Regions from separate parts of the Homo sapiens genome. Here regions 1, 2 and 4 are each linked to region 3. Evidence: promoter capture Hi-C in 16 types of primary human blood cells and fetal thymus (Javierre and others, 2016). All regions are on one chromosome and are shown on one strand. Each heading gives the region's core, a stretch centred on a gene start or on the middle of the fragment in contact. The rest is flanking DNA. Distances are from core to core; before and after follow the strand shown.

Region 1 (5,427 bases), core at 2,361-4,860, 1.4 Mb before region 3:
CATTCCACTGTGTATATCAAAACATCATGTGGTCAGGAACAATGACTCATGCCTGTAATCCCATTGCTTTAGGAAAGGCAAGGCAGGGAGGATCCCTTGAGACCAGAAGTTCAAGACCAGCCTGGGCAACACAGCAAGACCCCCATCTCTAAAAAAGAAAAAAAAACTTAATTAGCCAGGCATGGTGACATGCACCTGTGGTCCTAGCTACTCAGGAGGCTGAAGGGGGATGATCACTTGAGCCCAGGAGTTTGAGGTTACAGTGAACTATGATTGCGCTGCTACACTCCAGCCTGGACAACACAGCAAGGCCCTATCTCTAAAAAGAAAAATTTTTTAAAAATAATTAAATATATATAATTTTTAAAAAAGAAATATGTTTATTAAAATATGGTAGTAAATTTTGATCTGGCTTTTCATAAAACATTTATTCTAATTATCTTACAAAAACTTTGGGGGAGAGATAACAGTCAACTTTAGGAATTATATGGAATTATATGGTGATTACTTCATACTTGGACATATAAAACCTTGTAATTTCAGAGCTAATATGGGAATATGTTCTACCTTCAGGAAAAGAAAAAAATGGGAAGTCAGTGACAAACTATTAAAATCTAAAAAGAGACTGATGTACATTTAATAAAAGAAGTGTAAATTTAGCTTCCTGCATTTAGAAAAATTTCACTTTTTCTGGCCCCTTAGAAACAATTTACATGTATACCATTTATTCACATTTGTACTTTCTTAACTTTTTGAAACACTTTCAGTCCGTAATTTCTTTTTATTCACACAACTTTGTGAGGTAGGAATGGTAAGTCGTCATTATCTGACAGCTAGGAAACCAAGGAACCTAGCAGATAGCAGATCACTTCAAGTCACAGAGAAAGCTAGCAAACACTGCTTCTCGATCACCTAATTCTCTTCCAGAATGTCTCAGCACTAGCCACCTCTGTGCAATAAAAAAATACAACTCACTTCAGCGAGTTCAAATAGAAAAGGCATCCCAGATCTCCAGAAGGATCAGAGAGGCAGACTTGGAGACTACGCAGCCCAGATCCCCACATAAGTCGACCCAGCAACTACTCTGGGAAAGACCCATTGCCCCTATTATTTGGCTTATAAAGCAAATGTTAGACACTGGAAGGTAGACCCTTGGGCTTGGTGATCCTAAAAGAACTACACCTCCACTCTCCCTCAACAGGCCAAAAGATTCCCTATGGCTTCTATTTCGTCATTTTGCTCTCTTCCAAATAGACACTTCATTCAGAGACTATGGTTAGCAGAGTCTAGGTCACTTCTCTGAGCCCGCATTCAGAATGTAAGAAATCTCCCAAGGTAAAAATGATGTTTGAAAGGAATGAGTAGACTCAACATGGTAAGGTACATCTCATAAAGCTTTCTCAAAATCAATGTGAGTCATAGAATTACTGTGGTTTGGGGACTGAAAGGGATCTTTCCAATTGCCAGTATTTTATAAATTTTAGGCTGTGATTCATTAGAGGGCCATAAAATCAACGTAGTACACCCTATAGTTTTAAAAAACTAAAAATAGAATGGAAAATACCACCATGCACTGCATTAGTGAAGATAAGTATTGCTTGGTGAAACTTTTGTCCTCATTATATATGTGGGTATAAATTTATATATATATATTTATAATATATATATATGTAGAGTACATATATATATATACATGTAGCGTATATGTCTAAGTGTCCTGTGCCATCAGGTAATATGTATTTCTTACTAGAGTCACAGTAAAAAAAAAATTGAAAAACACTAGTCAAATCCAATCTCTTCATTTTACATTTGACAGAGGATAAATAAGGCTCAGAGAACCTTGCTCTGTTGGTTAATGCAAGGCTGGAATTAGGACACAGAAAATTTTAGTCCTACATTTCATTGTAAGGACATTATCACTTAGAAGAAGTGTACTTCTTTTTTATGTAGATCTATTCCTACATTAGCCCTGTTATGATTATCAGATATATTTCATTAATTAGTATATCACAAAATAGTATGTTTTATAATTGTATTTTGAGGTAAGCATTAATTAATGATTGTCACTTGGTTAACACCAGTCTATTAACTTTTGAAAGATAACAAATCTATGTGTTATTTTGAATACTTTTAATGTTCGCAGTTAAATTATGAATTGCAGGGAAGTCATTGAAATAGTAGTTAAAGACATAAATTTTTAAAGAAAATAACCCTTTTAATTTTTAATCAATAGAAGGATTTTTAAGTTGTAATCTGCCATATTGAATAGAAATATATCACTAAAAATATTTTTCTTGTTAGTTCTCCACTGTTTGTCTCTATCAAAACATTAAATACGGAATTTTCCAAAGAAAGTTTCTATGATTTGAAATAAAATATGAAAAACAAAAGGCTTAACAATTTCTCTATAATGTGCTCAACTAAAGATACATCTACTTTTTAAAATTCTGAATACAAAAAATCATTTAAACTTCATGGATATTTTTATATTCATGGGTAAGAATTTTGGAAACAGTGGTAAATATTTTCAAAATGACATAGATTTTACTTTTCCAGTCCTCATTTTAATTGAATTCCTAAAGATTCTATTTCTAAATAGTCATGAACCAAAGATTTGTCCAGCTTGGAATACAGCTGTATCTTCAATAATAAAGCTGATCAAGTCTTTTTGCACAATTGACATACACTGTTGTTTTAACATTTTTATGTTTTAGAAACAGAAGTTTAATATTAATACTTTTATTATGCAACATTAAAGTCTAATTGCTTTTATGATTTTTATAATAAAGAGGGCCAAAGCAAAGTAGATAATACCAAGTCACTGAAGAATAAAAATAAATAATGCCTTAGATTATTCAAAGAAGCCCAATTTCTTTTTTTTCTTTCTTTCTTTTTTTTGTTTGAGACAGGGTCCCACTCTGTCACCCAGGCTGGAGTACAGCGGCACAATCATGGCTCACTGCAGCCTCGACCTTCTGGTCTCAAGTGATCCTCCCACCTCAGCCTCCCAAAGTGCCTGGATTACAAGTGTGAGCCACCAAATTTGGCCAAGAACCCCAACTTCTATTATGTAGTCTTCTCTCTTCTACAGCAACACTCAAGAGGGTCAGAATGAAATGTACAACACTTTTACAAAGCACACCCAGAATCTACGGGTTACCTCAGTGCCTCATCCCAGATTTTGATATGGATTTTTAAGTTGACTTTTCATCACCCATTAATTTTTTCAAACTCACACTGGGAATAGAACATATTTTATTACTGCAATATGTTGACTCTTTACACCCTTTGTAGGAATTTGTGTTACTTATAAAGAATATAACTGTAAACAAAGATGACAAGGTATTTTTCTCACCAAAAACATTTTTTCTGTACTGAGTGGTTCTTGAACAAAGGAAGCTTACTTGACCTACCTAATGTGTAAGGAATTAGGTACAGAAGCTGGTTAGGTAAGGCAAAGAATGAGGATGAGAAATTTACTTATCAGGGGTTTAGAGCGGTCATTAGAAAAGCCTCTACTTCCCAGACTGGTTTGTCCTGCTCAGTGAAGAGTGTTTTATTCCAACATCCTCTTTCCCTAACAGGCATTTAAAATAATGAGAGAATTTTTTAAAACAAGATATTTACAGTAAATAAAAACCTGTCACCACAAAGTGGGGAAAGTTGCTGACATTTTCCTGGGCATAGGATATGCTCATTGAATATGGCACCAAGCCTGCTTCCTTCAGTGAATCCATTTTATCAGCAATTAGGACTGTTGTTTCACTTAAATGGAGAATTCCATTATGACTCCTCAGCAACCTTAACAGATAGAAAGCTTTTTGTAATATTGCTAACTACACAGGAGGAAAGTAGTTATAAACTCCCTTTTGTGCTGTGGTGGATAGTCAGTGGAAAAAAAATCACCTTAAAATATTTCTCAGGACATGTTGGCCTATACCTCATTTGAATTCACGCATCTTTAAAATAAAATCTGTGCCTGGCGCCGTGGCTCACGCCTGTAATCCCAGCACTTTGGGAGGCCAAGGTGGGTGGATCACCTGAGGTCGGGAGTTTGAGACTGGCCTGACCAATATGGAGAAACCCCGTCTCTACTATAAATACAGAATTAGCCGGGCATGGTGGCGCATGCCTGTAATCCCACCTACTCGGGAGGCTGAGGCAGGAGAATCGTTTGAACCTAGGAGGCGGAGGTTGCAGTGAGCCGAGAATGCGCCACTGCACTCCAGCCTGGGCAACAAGAGTGAAACTCCATCTCAAAATAAAATAAAATAAAATAAAATAAAATAAAATAAAATAAATCTTATTTTTATTTTTAAAATAAAATCTTTATTTTATAATAAAAAATTTAAAATTTTTTAAATGAAAATTTTAAATAAAACATTTTTTAAATAAAAAATTTAAAGAAAATAAAAAGATTTCATTTTCTTTAAAATAAAATCTGGCTGTCCAATTGTTATTTCTTCGGTTGCTTTTCAAGAAAGTGTGAAGTCAAAAAGTAATTTTAAAAGGTAGGACTCTTCAATCTGCTTGAACAACAACAACTAGATAGTCTTAAATAAGTTCCTTTTATTTATTCTTACGTTGGTATTTTAAGTTAAATATTATACCAATAAGAATAGCTAGTTACGAAACAGCAGGAAATTCCACATATTTATTTAAAAAATAGACATGTTTTTAAAATCTCATTAATGACTTTGTAAATTGTAATACCTACCTTTGGTAAGGGTGCAATGAAATAAACACCCATAGGTACTAGTGGACATGGCATAAACTGCTACTATCTTTCAGAAAAGGCAATTTCATAATATACATCAAAACCCTAACATGTTTGACCCTTTGCTTCAGAAATTGAACTTTTAGGAATTTAGCCTGATGGAATGTATAATTAAAGAAATGGACAAATACTTGTGTGCAAATGTGTTTGTCATGACATTATCTGTAATACAAAAAAGCTGGAAAAAACATAAATCTACAATAACTGGGAATTGGTTAATGAAATAGTAGGCTATTCATACAATAGATTGCCACATAGGCATCAAGAAATATCCTATTTGAAATTAGTATATACAAACAAAGAAAAAATGTTAAGTTGTTATCTCTCAGTCCAGATGTCTTATTTTCTTTACTCTTTTCTGTATTTTCCAAATTTCCTTCAGTGAACATCTTCAGTTAAGAGGCCTTAAAAGTTCATTTGCTAGTATTATGCTGAAAAGTTCTTTTTTAAAAAATAAAACTACAGTTCAGCACAAGTGAAATTTAATGCTCTTTTTACTATCATTGTATCTTTCGAATATCTGCACCATTATTTGCCTTCCATATGTATTAAAATATGGAAAGAGCCAAAAGAGACATGTAATTCAAGCTCCCCTTTCTTCCCAAATGAAATTCCCCCAAATAAGACCACCATATTTTCAATTTATTAGG
Region 2 (4,925 bases), core at 1,436-3,935, 1.2 Mb before region 3:
GAGACTCCGTCCCCCCTTCCCCCTCCCCCCAAAAAAGAATATGCAGGATACTGAGTGAAAAGTACCCATTGGATTTAGGAATTTACAGGTCATTTCAACACTTAGCAGAGCAGTTGTGTGGTGGGAAACACCATTTAGTGGTTTGAAAAGTGAATGGGTAAGAAGTGAAGCAACTAAATACCAGCTGTCAAAAGGACACGAGATTGAGCTTCATAGAGGATATGGGGATGAGCAAGGATTGTTTTTGTTTTGTTTCTTTACTTTTTTGGTATTGTTTTTAAAAGAAACAGATTTATAAATGTTTAAATACTAATGGATAAAATAAAAGTGAGAGTTTGCAGAGAGAGGAGAGAGTCTGATGTTCTAGAAGAGGCGGAAGGAAAGATGCACAATATGGCTGAAAGGTTTAGCCTTAGATAGAGAAGCAACTGCCTTCTTTCCTTATATTCGGAGATATAAGTAGAGGTGGGTTTGTGGACTTGGAAACTCAAGTGAGCTCCCTTTTGATGACTCTCTAGGAGGCAGAGTCATCTGGTGAGAATGCAGTAGGAAGAAGTAGGGTATCAGAGATTTGAAGAGAGGAAATAGGGGTTTGAATAGTCACAAGAATGGGGAAGAATGTTGACCAGGGAAGGATGTTCCATGGATTTAGAGTGGCACCATTTAGCCTAGTATGTGAATTTCTTCCCCCCGTCCAGCAGTGTTCAGTAGTCTGAGCCCAGATTGTACCATCAGCTCTTTGAGGATATATATTCTAACGTATTTGTTGAATTATTTTATAACACACATTAGTGATGTTTAAAAAAAAAAAACTCAATGCATTCCAGATTTTGTCAGTTTCTCACACTCAAGTTAAAAAGATAAACCAAAATATACCAAAGGAAGACATTTTCTTTAACATTATGTGGTACCTTAAGACATGAGTGAATAAAGATGTAATTAAGGAAAATCAGTTGGAATACTTAAATAGACTTAGTTGTAAAAATAAAAAAAAATGTGCTTGTTGAACGTATAAAAGCAAAATAAGTAATAATACTCGGAACTTCCCAGAGACCCTAAGGTTGCTTTAGTAACATTCCTCTCCAGCCAGATGAGTACTAAGAGTTGATTCCAGGTTCTCATGTTTCTCTTGAGCCTTTTAGTGTACAGCTATTAAGAAAGTACAAATAAACTAATCAAAAACTCGTGGGTTTTTTTTGTTTATTTTTGGAGGCAGAGTCTCGCTCTATCCCCCAGGCTGGAGTCCAGTGGCGTGATCTCCGCTCACTGCAACCTCCGCCTCCTGGGTTCAAGCGATTCTCCTGTCTCAGCCTCTTGAGGCATTACAGATGCCTCCCACCACACCTGGCTAATTTTTGTATTTTTAGTAGAGACAGGGTTTTGTCATGTTGGCCAGGCTGGTCTTGAACTGCTGACCTCAAGTGATCCACCTTCCTCACCCTCCCAAAGTTCTGGGATTGCAGGAGAGAGCCACCGTGCCTGGCCCTAGTTTCTTTTTAAATATCTGATTGGGTTCTCTTTAGATAGCATTACCGTGAACCATTGATCAGTTCTTTTGAAACAGTATACTAGGAAATTTTGAAGAATTATTATAGATGGTTAAATCATTTTTTGACTACTATCATTTTTTAGGTGTGACTTGTGGAAGCTTTAATTTCGTGGGTCCACTAACAAATACTTGTAGTAACGTTTGTTTAAGTAGAATTGAAAAGTTCTTCATTTACTTTATAATGACTATTAGGGTGAGCATTTCAGTTTTTCATTTTTGACTCGGAATTTGTCAGGAATTGGTTTGCTATAGAGATAGTGTTTAGATTTGGAAAGCAAGTTTAGTAATCAAAGTAATTTAATAGAGATAAAAGTACAGGGAGAATTATGGCTCAACTTTAGGGACTGAGTAACTTTAATACTTTAATTCTAGTAAGTTTATTAGTTAAACAATGTAAAGACCTTGTGTAACATTCTAGAGCTGGCTTGTAAAAAGATGTAGGGGATATTTGGCAGGTCGTAATGGTTGCTGTTACTACTAATATATACAAGTGCTTTTCAAATTAGAGGTAACGATGAAGTCCTTCATTCACTTTAAGAACTAAGTAGCTTTCTCTTGTACCAAAACCTGCTACAATCTAAGCTAAAGCGAACATTTCACCTTTCCTTGTTGTTGAAAAACCAGATATTTAAACCAGAATGAATTAGGTGAATTCTTCACCATCTCTGGAAGAACAGTTCTATTCATGCAGTCATAGCATATGATGAGTAGAAAGCACAGCCATGTCTGTCTGGATAAACTGCCAAGTTTTAAGCCAGAAACAGTATTCATTAAGATATTGCAAATCAGGTTGTAAACTGGATTTCAGTTTTTAAACTGGATTTTTTCACTTTCTATATGCATCTTTATATAAAATAATGAGTAAATTATATAAAATTAACTCTGAAATATTGTTTTCTTCTTTTTAGATCACTATAAACAAAATTTCCACAAGAGAAAATGTTGAAATAGGAGTTGCGGATACATTGGATATACTGGATGAAATACAAGCGGTTAATTTTTGTAACGTGAGGGAAAAGCCCACATTGCTGGTTACATGTGTAAATCACTGCGTTATTGCTTTAGTCATTGTCTCTATTTAGCAATGACAAGACTGGAAGAAGTAAATAGAGAAGTGAACATGCATTCTTCAGTGCGGTATCTTGGCTATTTAGCCAGAATCAATTTATTGGTTGCTATATGCTTAGGTCTATACGTAAGATGGGAAAAAACAGCAAATTCCTTAATTTTGGTAATTTTTATTCTTGGTCTTTTTGTTCTTGGAATCGCCAGCATACTCTATTACTATTTTTCAATGGAAGCAGCAAGTTTAAGTCTCTCCAATCTTTGGTTTGGATTCTTGCTTGGCCTCCTATGTTTTCTTGATAATTCATCCTTTAAAAATGATGTAAAAGAAGAATCAACCAAATATTTGCTTCTAACATCCATAGTGTTAAGGATATTGTGCTCTCTGGTGGAGAGAATTTCTGGTTATGTCCGTCATCGGCCCACTTTACTAACCACAGTTGAATTTCTGGAGCTTGTTGGATTTGCCATTGCCAGCACAACTATGTTGGTGGAGAAGTCTCTGAGTGTCATTTTGCTTGTTGTAGCTCTGGCTATGCTGATTATTGATCTGAGAATGAAATCTTTCTTAGCTATTCCAAACTTAGTTATTTTTGCAGTTTTGTTATTTTTTTCCTCATTGGAAACTCCCAAAAATCCGATTGCTTTTGCGTGTTTTTTTATTTGCCTGATAACTGATCCTTTCCTTGACATTTATTTTAGTGGACTTTCAGTAACTGAAAGATGGAAACCCTTTTTGTACCGTGGAAGAATTTGCAGAAGACTTTCAGTCGTTTTTGCTGGAATGATTGAGCTTACATTTTTTATTCTTTCCGCATTCAAACTTAGAGACACTCACCTCTGGTATTTTGTAATACCTGGCTTTTCCATTTTTGGAATTTTCTGGATGATTTGTCATATTATTTTTCTTTTAACTCTTTGGGGATTCCATACCAAATTAAATGACTGCCATAAAGTATATTTTACTCACAGGACAGATTACAATAGCCTTGATAGAATCATGGCATCCAAAGGGATGCGCCATTTTTGCTTGATTTCAGAGCAGTTGGTGTTCTTTAGTCTTCTTGCAACAGCGATTTTGGGAGCAGTTTCCTGGCAGGTAAGCTTATTGTTTGTCCAGCAACCCCAATGACGTGTAATAAAATGCTAGCTTCAATAATTGAAATTAAAGTTATAAGGTCAAGTTCCTGATTTCAAAAGGATATTCATGTTTGCTCTTAATTTTGTTCATGGAATTGAAGCACTGAATGTGTTTCAAGAGGATAATTTATTTGATCTCTAGCAAAGAGGTACCAAAATGTTATGAACACTCAGCGTTGAGATGCCTCCCGCTTCCTGACTGTTCATTAGTGAAACACTCATCGATTAAAGAGTCTTAGAATACTAACATTTGGAAAGTATTTAAAGATTGTATTTTGATCCTTTAATTATACCCATGAGGAAACTGAAAGCCAAAGAAGACACATCCAGAGTCACTAGTACTAGCAGGAACAAGGTTACTTAACTTCTGTCTATTCCCTGGACTCCTCACTGTAACATGTTTCTTTTATGCAGCCATTTCTCTGAAGGTTTTATATAAAAGGTGATCAGATATATAACAACATAGCAGGTTCTTAATTATAGATTAGAGGTTATCCTAAGAAAGAAAACATGGGTTTCACAGTACCTTTGCTGCCCAGAAATGTTTTCTAAAAGGTTCTTGTAGACAAAGACATTTGTACAGTTGGAGTTTGCATCTGCAGTATTAACAAACCCAGTCTTCCATTAATTGAGCATGTATTGACTATGCACTATATGCCAGGCACTATAGTGGGTGCGGAAGATCTCAGGATGTCTGTCAAAGGTGGCACAGTCTCCAATGGGAGGAGGAAGAGGCTGGCATGTAAACAAACAATTATGATTACAGTGTGATAAATACTATAATCTGTGTACATCAGACTGGGATGTGGGGCATAAAGGAAAGTCAGCTCTGCTTGGTGCAGCTCTCTGTAAGAGTTTGTTGCTGCTGACTGATTTCTAGAGGAAAGTCAGCTCTGCTTGGTGCAGCTCTCTGCTTTGTAACAGTTTGTTGCTGCTGAGTGATTTCTAGAAGTGTGTTTTGAAGAGGGAGATGTGAAGACTTGCCTGGACATGGTGCTAGATTTCTAGTCAGCTGGGCTAGGGCAGGGATCCTGTGTGGGAGTCAGCCAAATGAGGAAAACATCTTGGGTGTGGCCTGAGGATATTGTCCTTACTTTGCTCTACTTGCTGGTGTTAGGTACTGTCAGAATTATGTTGTTGATGTCAAAAACTCAAGCATGAGTTTTCCTCC
Region 3 (5,365 bases), core at 1,682-4,181:
TAACTGCTGCTTCTTTTTCTCATAAACTTTTTTCTCCCAAAGATCAGTTTCAGGTTCAGAGCAAAATTGAGCAGGAAGTATAGGGTTCCTATATATTCCTGTACCCCACATCTGCACAGCCTCCCTGACTATGAATATCCTGTACCAGAGCAGTATATTTGTTACAATTGATGAACTTACATTGACATCATTATCACCCAAAGTTGAGATTTTATATTAAGGCTCCCTCTTTGGGTTGTATATTTTATGGGTTTGGACAAATGTATAATGACATGCATCACCATTATCATATCATACAGAATAGTTTCACTGCCCTAAAAATCTGTGCTTCATATCCCCCTCCTCTGTGACCTCTGGCAATCACTGATCTTTTTACTGTCTCCATATGTGATGGTTAATACTGAGTGTCAGCTTGAATGTATTGAAGGATAGAAAGTATTGATCCTGGGTGTGTCTATGAGGGTGTTGCCAAGGAGATTAACATTTGAGTCAGTGGGCTGGGAAAGGCAGACCCACCTTTAATTGGGTGGGCACCATCTAATAAGCTGCCAGTGAATATAAAGCAGGCAGAAAAACATGAAAAGGAGAGACTGGCCTAGTCTCTCAGCCTACAGCTTTCTCCTGTGCTGGACGCTTACTGCCCTCAAACATCGGATTCAAAGTTCTTCAATTTTGAGACTCGGACTGGCTCTCTTGCTCCTCAAGCTTGCAGACAGCCTATTGTGGGACTTTGTCATCATGTAAGTTAATACTTAATAAACTCCTCTTTATATTTATATGTCTATCCTATTGGTTCTGTCCCTCTAGGAAACCCTGACTAATATACCATAGTTCTGCCCTTTCCAGATATTAGCTTCTTTTTAAGTACACTTGATGAATCTTAGTGATAAAATCAGGCCAGACCTAGCAACTCTTTTTGTATGTTTATTGACTTCCCAATACAATAAAGGCCATAAACACCTGTCTTTGTTGTTTATTCACCTACATTCCATCCCAGACTGTCAGTTCCTAGTGACCAGGAGCTCCATTCAATTTGGGGTCATGGTACCAAATAGTTCTTGACTGCTATTTGATGAGGGTGGTCCTGTCACCTAAGTGCTCTTGAAATTAAGTCCTTAAGCACTGGCCGAAAAGAGCTTACTTTGCAGTAATTATTTCAGTGACAAGTAAGAAAAACTGGGACATATCCCCTTCACAGGAGAGCAATTTTGCTCTCTTTAGGAAACTCTTGGAATTTTAGTTATCAGGCTATTTAAGACCCTGAGTAGATTCTTAAACCTTTAGAATAAATTTTGAACCAAGAGTGCCAGAATGTCTGTTATTTACATTAGTATTAAGTGATCTGAAAGTGCACAGAGTAGTTTGGCAGTATCTAGAGGGAGAATAGAGACAGAAATAATGAAGATACAACTGGAGGAGTAAGAAAAGGAGAAAAAAAGTATTTTATGTCTGTTCAGTATTTCTAGGTGCCACTGCTGCTAAATGCCTGGGCTTCAGCCTAGGTTGGGTTGCTCCTAGCAAAGAAAACCAGTCCCTGAGACAACGAGTATTGCCAGGGAAGACAGGCTTTAATGCAGGTGATGCTGGCAGGGAGACCAGTCTCAAACATGTCTTAGGGAGACTAAAGTTAGGGCTTTCTATAGCAGGGAATTATGGAGGGGTAAGGAAGAGGAGTTTGTGAACAGGCAGCAGATGCACCTCATTGTCCAGATGTAGTGTTCTGGAAAGTTGCATTTCCTTGACACTATCTGGGAGGTCTGACAGTTTATCTGCTGAGAAAGGAACTCAGGTAAAATGCACGCAAGTTTCTCAAGTTTCACTTCGAAGGGAAAATTTGGCCGGTTTCGGTCTTCCCTTTCTATTTATCAATTCCTCAATCATGCGGAATCTGGTAGTTGATCTTTCTGGCTGCTTCACGTGAAGGAAGGGCATCTTGGGATGATATGGAATGAAAATATCGCACCTGTAATTGCAAGTACTTACGAGTACCTGGTTGGCATCCAGCTTGTTGGAGCACCATGATTTGGGTACTTTCATCAACATTTTAAACCACATTGAATTAGGATAATTAATAACATGGATAAGAAGGTTTCTTTGTAGGTTGTAATAACCCAGTTAAGAGTTTGTACCATTCGGCCGGGCGCAGTGGCTCACGCCTGTAATCCTAGCACTTTGGGAGGCCTAGGTGAGCGGATCACGAGGTCAGGAGATGGAGACCATCTTTGCTAACACGGTGAAATCCCATCTCTACTAAAAATACAAGAAGATTAGCCGGGCATGGTGGCGGGGGCCTGTAGTCCCGGCTACTAGGGAGGCTGAGGCAGGAGAATGGCGTGAACCCGGGAGGCGGAGATTGCAGTGTCGCTCTGGCGACAGAGCGAGACTCCGTCTCAGGAAAAAAAAAAAAAGAGTTTGTACCATTTGAGGGCAAAAGCTTCAGTATGAAATTCCCGTTTCTCTCAAGTAAACCGCCTGTCCTGTGTTACTCACTTTGTTTTACCTGGAGGCAGCAAAACTGAATAGTTTTCCTGAGTGCTCATGAGTAGGAAAAAATGAAATGAAGAGTTGCCCAGAGATCGCTAGTGAGGTGCTTTGCCACTACTGCCCTGTACTTAAGTAACTGTGAGGGTTCTCTGTTTCCTGGCTTCTAAAACAAGAGGAAGAGCTGAAGACACAGTTTCATAGACTTTTCGGCTCTTTATTGTAGTCTCCCCCATTAGTACGTTGCTGAGCTTAGGGCAAGTGCTCAATAATAGCTTGCTGAATTAGTGTTGTGTTTGATCCTTTCAGATCCACGCCGCATTTTGAGCCCGACCTGGGCGGGCGGTCCAGAGACCAGTTTTCCGCCGGGGGCGGAGCTTCGGGCGGCCAGCGCGCGACGGGGCAGCGGGGCGGAGCTTGCCGCCGGCGGAGGGCGGGGTCTGCGCGGGGACTTCCCCCGGGCTGAGCTGCGCAGCGGGTGCGGAGGGCGGGCGCCCGGCGTCCGGCGGCGGGTGGGGGGCTGTGAGGCTGGCAGGGGTCGGCGGGCGCGTAGCCGCCGACCCTTGGTGGTCTCTTGGGCTGGGGACCCTTCCCTGGGAGTCGGCCCCGGCCCCGGCGGGGCGGGCGTTGCCGGGAGGCGGAGGGGTGCGCGGCCGCGAGTCCTGCGTGATCGCGAGCATGTGTGCGTGCGCGTGTTTATCTGAGGCGCGTGCGGCGGCCACCCCAGCCTAGTCCTCTTCTTGGTGCCACTGGCTAACTAGGTTGAGAAACCGGCGCCACAGGCGGCACACCTGGCCCGGAGCTGGCCCGCTCCTCCCCGCCGAGCCGGCGCCCCAACAACGCGCCCTCTCCCAGTCCTCACAAAGGGGCCTAGTCCGGCCCCCGGCTCTGGCCGTGAGGGAGCGCTGTGGGGGCGCGCTGCCTTCTGCCTGGAAGTGTTGGGCAGGTGGTGGGAGAGCGTCAGGCTTGAACAACATGATTTTAAAGCACGTGTCTGTCTGTCGTTTTTTACTTTTAGGGTTTTGGCCAAATTGGGCGAGGGCACAAAATAACCACTTACCCCTTCTCACCGAGGAAGAGCGGGAGAAAGGGTAAGTAAGGAATGGTCAGGGGTGGAAGGACCTAGGACTTTATCCTGAGAGCGAGCGAGAGAGAGAAGGGCTAGATGTCCAGAACTGCTCGTGGGGAACTTGGGCCCAGATTCTACCTTTTCATCGGGAACTGGAGGACCCACCTTCAAAGTCACAGGCTCCAGGCCCCGGACTGTTTTCAGCCTCACACAGTCTATAGAGTTTAACAGCTTGGGCATGTGGATCCCTTTTAGCCCCTTGACCCGACAGAAAACTGCACTTCCCCTTTACCTGTTTTTACCTTGGAACATTGGTCCTCTCTAGTTGTCTGTCTCCGGCCCCTATCTTATTAGCCAGCTTTGACTAATCCCTGAGACCATAGCACTAAAGAATCCAGGTCCTGTTTGATAATGAACAGTAACCCCCCTAGGGATGTTTACATTTTAAAAGGGTACTCCTGAAAAAATCCTTTAGGACCCCAAAGCATAAAGTTAGTAACAAGATTACAAGTGTTGAAGTTCTTTGGGATCTCTCAAGCTTACAGAAGAAGATGTTTTGAGGGGAGAGAGATGACCAGGCTGGGCCTTTTTCTCTGGGCTTTCACTCTTGGTACCTCCTGGCAAGCATTCCATTCACTTTTGAAAAGTTGCCAAAAAGGACACTGAAGTTCTCTGAGGCTTACTGTGATTTTCAGTGTGGTCTATTTCATTGGTTCTTCTGTGGGACTTTTCTATCACTTCTTTAATACACTGCTTCCCTCTCCCCTGTATGGTGAAATGAAACACAGCTCCTCTCACAAGGTTGGGAGCTCATTATGCATCCTATATGTCACATATAAATAACCGTTTTAAATTAGTTGAAATTCAGATTAGCTACAAGCAGGAATGTAGTAAAACTGCATTCTTGGATTCTTACACAGGAAAAGTAGAATTGCCCTCTGTGATAGGCTGCCTATTCTGATACTGGCTGCCTGTGTCCTGAACGTGCCTATTTGTTTGTGCTCAAGTGATAGGTGACCACATAATTTATGGAAAACAGGAAGTGATTGTTTATTGATAATGGGTTCCTTCATTGATTCAATAGCTAATTCTCTCTTACCATGTGCTACGCACTTTTATCAGCACTTTGATAAAAGTAGGATGGTGAGAATGATGAGATTGTATTGGAGATGGCTGTTTTGGGGTAGGCCTTTCACCAGTTTTGTGGATTTTCTCAATAGTTACATGTTAATTTACAAGACTTTCCCTGTACTACTGATCATAGTGGTTTGCAGGTCTATACAGTGTTGTGGGAGAACAGAATTATTATTCCGCCTTTCTAGTACTTTCAGTAATAAACTTACAAGGATGGCTGACCTTGATGATTTGTTTCCTATAATGAATAATGTTATAGTCATTTTCCAGTGTACGAGTATAATAATTAGATGAGGATAACTTTTGTAGTTGTTCCATAAGAAGGACCTAATATTAGGAATCATGGAGAGTGTAAAGGATGATGTACTTAGAAAAATAAATTCGAAAGTAGACCATTTTTAACTTGCATGGGTTTCTGTGCATTTAGCCTCATTTAAAAGATCTAAGCTAGAATAGTTCTTTGTCTTTTTCTGGTTATAAGAGTAATAAAAAGTCAAAAAAAAGTTATTTAGAATTAAATCTGGGAGGGTATAAAAGGCAATAAGTGAGTTTCCTATGAGTCCACTTTCAGATGACCACTTAACAATTTGATACTTGTTTCTTCAACTTTTTGTTCCATATATACACATACTAAATATGCAGCTTAAGTATATGTTAAACATGTATACATCTTAACTGCGT
Region 4 (5,705 bases), core at 1,099-3,598, 1.6 Mb before region 3:
ACATATTTTGGTACCCACATGCTAAAAAGTCAAATATACTTTGATTTTCAATGCTTAAGGGATTTACTCACTCAAAAATTAAATTAAAATAGCTCATCTCCCAGAAAAACAGAACTTGTTTAGAATAGGACGAAATAGGAAAACCTACTTTGGCCTAAGATTGAACCATCCAGAAATGTATACTACAATGACTTGATATACACAAGACTGTTGAGATCATTCTGACTCACGGCAAAAAACCATTTTGTAGGTATTCCATTAGAAATCCACTTTCAGGACATATCACATTCAAAAGCTTGATCAACCTTATATCTTGATCCTCAGATTATAAACCGTTGCTGGTATAAATAAAATATACGAAACCCATTTTTCATCTGTTCACTGTAGCCTACATGATATTTTATGAAATTAGTATCAATTACACAGGCTGATGTTAAAATATTAACAACAATATTAAGAATCTATCATATATATTTAGGTATATATAAATGTTAACAAAATATTAACCAAAGTTTTCAGAAGTAGAAAAAAGTCTATTTTTCTCCTAGTTTCAAATAAAGAAATATAGAAATTCTTAAATACTAAAAATAAAGCCTTTGGAAAGATAAATAACAGTGTCTCAGAGATTCTTAAAACAAGCTCTTGTAATGAGTACCAGACAACCAGCACAGGACTTGTGGGTGGGTGCGGGGAGGAGATAAGAGAATCAGAAAATGCCAGGTTTAGAAGGAAGCTTCAAGGACATCTAATACGACTATCTTTTTGAAGTCTGAATCCTTTCTACAACATCCTAGTCAAGTGTTCATTAAGCTACCCTTCTGACTGATCAAGAGTTCACTGCTCACTGAGGCAGCCAATTCCCTCTTAGAATATTAGAAGAGCTTTTTTTTCTATCAAGCTAAAAACATGCCCATTACTTTCCCCCACTGGCCATCTAGAACAGGTCCAATTTCTTTCTTTTATGGTCTCTCCTATGGGATGAGCCACTGAAAATGGCAGACATTCTCATTGAGTCTTCTCATTTACATCCCATGGTTTTTCAACTATGTTCTTCAACTAATGAGTTTAATCTCATCATTATACCGTTAATATCCAGTTTGTTAATGTTTCTATTAAAATAGGAACCCATAAGAGAACAGCAAACTGCTGGGCATAGCCCACACTGGAAATAGCAAAGCAAAGCTTCCCTCCCTCTTCTAGATAATTCACATCAATTCCTGCAGCCGAAGATCATAATCACTGTTTTGGTGGCTATGTCATACATGTTGATGCAAACTGAGCTTTATGTTGGCTAAAATCTTAAAACCTTAAAGTCTTAGCTTTTAACTTATTCAATAAGTATTTGTGGATTGTCACTATGTGGGTATTACAATACTAAAAACAGTATGAGAAATCAGTGTGATATAACCAAAAGAGGTAGGATTCTGGGCCCAAGCCCCACTTTATCCAGCTATATCTATGTAGGAAGGACAATTGTTAGAGCTACTTAATTTTCATAATAGGATAACTATCTCACTACTTTCATAATAGGATAACTATCTCTCTGTTCCAAAGCATATGGATGGGCCCTTAGCCAGCAATTTAGAATACTAGCACTCCAGGATATCCAGCTCTCATCCAAATACCTACTGAGAGAAGAAATGTTCAGGGAAGATAGGTCCAAGACCTTACAAATTCAATCTTTGGTTAATGTTGTCACCAGAAACATACATATTGGGAACCCACAACACCTTTCTGATCAATTTCATTGACTCACATTTACTACTTTGTCCTAATCTTTGACAGAGGTTGTTATGAGAAATAACCACATAAAATTCATATCCACATTGTTATTTTTTATAACTGAGGTACTGTCCATTTTGTTACTCAGAGTCCTTCTCAGTGCTAGCAAAGGCTCTGTTCTCTTCAAGGAATCAGATGGTTCTGATTTTTAATGATGGAAATCATTAGAATGGTTTTACATATTTAAAAAATTAAATCTTAAAGACAGGACCGGGCGTGGTTGCTCATGCCTGTAATCCCAGCACTTTGGGAGACCGAGGCGGGCGGATCACGAGGTCAGGAGATCAAGACCATGCTGGCTAACACGGTGAAACCCCGTCTCTACTAAAAATACAAAAATTAGCCGGGTGTGTTGGCGGGCGCCTGTAGTCCCAGCTACTCAGGAGGCTGAGGCAGGAGAATGGCGTGAACCCGGGAGGCGGAGCTTGCAGTGAGCCGAGATTGCGCCGCTGCACTCCAGCCTGGGCAACAGAGCGAGACTCCGTCTCAAAAAAAAAAAATAAAAATAAAAATAAAAAAAACTTAAAGACAGAAATGAAAGGCTATAAGAAATGATAAGAAAAAATGTCATTTGATACATATACAAATAGTAAAAAGTATTTGTATTTTCCACTTCATCAATAACTGAGAAGGGATCCAGGAAAGCAAGATGAATAATTCTAACTGGGTCTTGTTAAATGCATCATTAACTTAACGTCAGGTTAATGTCATTCAGTTGCCCCTATGTCACCACTTCCCAAATAATCAGCCTCCATAAAATGGCAAAGGCTCTAAGACCAAATGAACCTAAGAACTACCAGGAGAACTTATTTTAAAGTTTTGCATTTTAAAATAAATTCCCCATATAATTGGGATGCAAGTGAAACACAGAACACACTTTGAGAACACTCTTCCAGGACCAATTTTGGATAACTTGAATAAACTCTGTCACTCTTCCCTGGATCCTCTACTGTCTGTGTAGGTCCCTTTTAATGTCTGGTCACCAAAGATACGTACGGTATTCTATTAAGGAGTTACTGAAGCAGGGCAGATGAAAGGATTATGTCCCTTCCCTTATATAGCCACCACAAATACATTCACGAGTGTTGATAGGCATGCTCGCAAAAGCAGTGCTTCATTCTGGCTGTCAGATTGAGGTCAATTACTTATTTTGACTCTCCTGAGATACGAGAGCGTAAAATGCATTAAAATGAGTCCAAATCAAAATCAAATGAAACTATAGTGTTGTACCGGACTTTTTCCTCAACTGAACCAGTTGCAATCTTTTTAATATAACCTATTCCACCTTTAAGATAAAGAAATTATCTTTAAAGTAAAATGGAAAATCTGGCAACCTCCTTGAGTAAACTTATTCTTGCAGAAAGTAAGATTTTTGTCATTTTAAAAATTATAAAGATTTTTAATTCAAACAACATTACTTTAGAGTATTTACAGACAAGTAGTCTGTTGTCTTAATGGTCTCAAGGAATAGATTTATAAACAATCAAAATATTACAAGCAAGAGTAAAGAAACTTTACTATTGCCATCTCACTCACCGTTTCATAGATAAGTAAATCATTCCGTGACACAGAAACTGATGTTTTACCATAAAGTGTTCTACTTGGACCACCTATGTGATTTAGCAAAAGAAAGAAATTTAGAAACTAAAAGTGACTGATCACTTACAGTATGTCAACTGGAAATTCACAATAAATGTCTACATAAAAGGTTCAAGTACTCATTTAAGCTTCCAGAATCAATTTAAAAGTAACCACTTCCTAGATACTGCTAACCAATACATTCTAGCCTTATATACACTGCAACATGTCTAGATTGACTCAAAAAGGTATTATCAAATGAACAAAGTGAGATATCCAAAGTGTAAATTCAGTTTCTCAAATTGAGTGATTTTACTCAAAAAATGGCCAGACAGAAATTTCATAAGTCTTTCAATTCAAGGGAAATCAAGCTAAGACTGGTTGGGGCAAGATTCACTGTCCTAGGCTATTTGCATTTTCTATCCAGCATGTCTTTAATTTTATAAATTTCATGCTGTTTGTTTCCATGGTTACCAGCTCTTAATCATAATGAGCACCTGGTCTACACAGGGGAATTAATATTTCCCTGTGAAATGCACATACTGAATTGTTAGTAACCTCCCTACATTTTTGCAGGGACTAGTTTAAACTCTTGACCCCTAGCAAAGATTTTCTTTTTTTTTTTTTAACTTTTGAGCTTTGGGGGCACATGTGCAGGTTTGTTACATAGGTAAACACGTGTCATGGGGGTTTGTTGTACATATTCTTTCATCACCCAGGTATTAAGCTCAATACCCAATAGTTATCTTTTCTTCTTGCAAAGATTTTCAAAGGGTCTCTTTAACTTTCTTTTTGAATTTTGTATATTATATGGACTTCAGTTATTTCATGATAATTGAAATTTTCCAACATTTCACAATCTATGTTGACAGGGAACATCTATGCTCGTTAGTATGTGTGCTTTTGCGCCTGGGTCAGATATACTTCAATTTTTAAAAAAACACTTTTTTGTACATATTTATTAAATCTCAGTCAAAATCCACTGATAAATTAGGTGAATACTGGCACCCCCTCATTCACCACACTAGGGCCTAGAGGGAAGTACACAAACACCAGCAACCCCTCAAGTAGTCAACATGATTAGGCTTCCTAAGCGACATTAGAACACCTTATTAAAAAGAAAATTAAAATGGTTTTTGATCCTGTGGACATTTTCCACATAACAGTATGTGGACAATGATTAAAAGTATAAAGTTTGTCATATTTCCTGGATATATACCACTCACTAGTTATGTGACCTGGTGTAAATTACTTAACTATGCCTCAATTTCTTCATCAGAGAATAATAATAGTATCCAGTTCACAGGATTATTTTAAGGAGTAGAGGGGCTTATATTTATTAATGTGTGGAATAGTTACTGGTGCATATTAGTCACTATTTTAAGTGTTTGTTAAATATAAATGTCAATCAATCAATCTGACCCTATGCAGCATGAAACCATGTTTTCTAAGAAAATCTTTTTTTCCATAATAAATGTTTGTTCATCTCTCATGATGTAAGCTAATTCTGATTTTAAATTTCCTTGTGTAGCACTTAATAAATATTATTTGATCAGCTACTTCCATCTCTGAAAGGTCGTCTGTTGCCAATAATAGTGTCACTTACACTGACCACACTGAGCCACTTTACATGTCACCTCATTCAATCTGCATTAACAACCCTATGAAGATTGGTGATCCCCTTATTACAGATGAGAAAACTCAAGTTTCAGGAAGTTAGATAATTCGCACAGGTTTACAGAGTTAGAAAGTGGCAGAGGTAAATTTGGAATCAACCTCTGATGATCTCCAAACCCTGTCTTAATCAGTCCATTACCACGGATAAAGTGCTATATAGATAATGTCACAACTTTTCAAAACTAGAACTTTGTCATATCCAGTAATTTTTAACCTACTCCAAGAAGATCAGCAATATAAATAAAAGTGGAATCTGTCATGCCTATGAGTGGGGTTTCTCTACTTCCCCATCCTCCACAAGCTTCCGTGTGTGATTGATTCCCACAGACAAATGACGATCACCAGTGGGAGTAAGGACCACATACATAATGGGCTCTAGGTGGTGCCTGGAACTTTGCCCAAAATGACCTTTTGCACCTCTCCCATACACTTCTGTAAATGCTGGTACAAGAGGTACTTAGCCTCAGGAGACGTTTTCTGCAGTAGTTGAACAGCTCTGGAAAGTGTAGCTTCTCCCATCCTTTTGACCTAATGAGTAGTTAGTTCTAACATTCTCAGTGATTAGTCCTATTAATGATGGGAAATACTGACTAGGTCTGGGTTGGTCTTTTTTAATTGTGAAGCTCCAGTAAAATGTTTCGACTCACTTGGCTTGGCTCAATTGCTAA

What was found. Contacts are between HindIII fragments. The CHiCAGO score rates a contact against its expected background, and 5 or more counts as called.
Region 1: a fragment that was not itself captured here is called in contact with the fragment with the promoter of IMMP2L in region 3 in 7 of 17 cell types (non-activated CD4 T cells, total CD8 T cells, total B cells and 4 more); the score reaches 7.8 in non-activated CD4 T cells.
Region 2: a contact is called between a fragment that was not itself captured here and the fragment with the promoter of IMMP2L in region 3, in 1 of 17 cell types (non-activated CD4 T cells). The highest score is 5.3, in non-activated CD4 T cells.
Region 4: a fragment that was not itself captured here is called in contact with the fragment with the promoter of IMMP2L in region 3 in 1 of 17 cell types (naive B cells); the score reaches 5.5 in naive B cells.

The regions. Positions count from the first base shown.
Region 1 is chr7:112,941,231-112,946,657 of GRCh38, reverse strand. No RefSeq gene overlaps it. Among named protein-coding and RNA genes, the nearest start is that of SAMTOR, 4.1 kb to the right of the region's middle. The HindIII fragment of the contact is 418 bases long and covers 3,402-3,819 here.
Region 2 is chr7:112,782,486-112,787,410 of GRCh38, reverse strand. It overlaps TMEM168 (transmembrane protein 168), which reads left to right. Exons shown (of 5, transcript NM_022484.6): 2 at 2,458-3,713. The coding sequence starts at 2,586. Among named protein-coding and RNA genes, the nearest start is that of TMEM168, 5.4 kb to the left of the region's middle. RefSeq lists an enhancer at 4,421-4,880. The HindIII fragment of the contact is 2,070 bases long and covers 1,651-3,720 here.
Region 3 is chr7:111,560,058-111,565,422 of GRCh38, reverse strand. IMMP2L (inner mitochondrial membrane peptidase subunit 2) reads left to right here and starts at 2,931. Exons shown (of 6, transcript NM_032549.4): 1 at 2,931-3,572. RefSeq lists a silencer at 2,770-3,399. The HindIII fragment of the contact is 1,654 bases long and covers 2,437-4,090 here.
Region 4 is chr7:113,120,938-113,126,642 of GRCh38, reverse strand. The region is part of intron 2 of LOC107986837; the gene reads right to left. Among named protein-coding and RNA genes, the nearest start is that of SMIM30, 5.2 kb to the right of the region's middle. The HindIII fragment of the contact is 2,327 bases long and covers 1,185-3,511 here.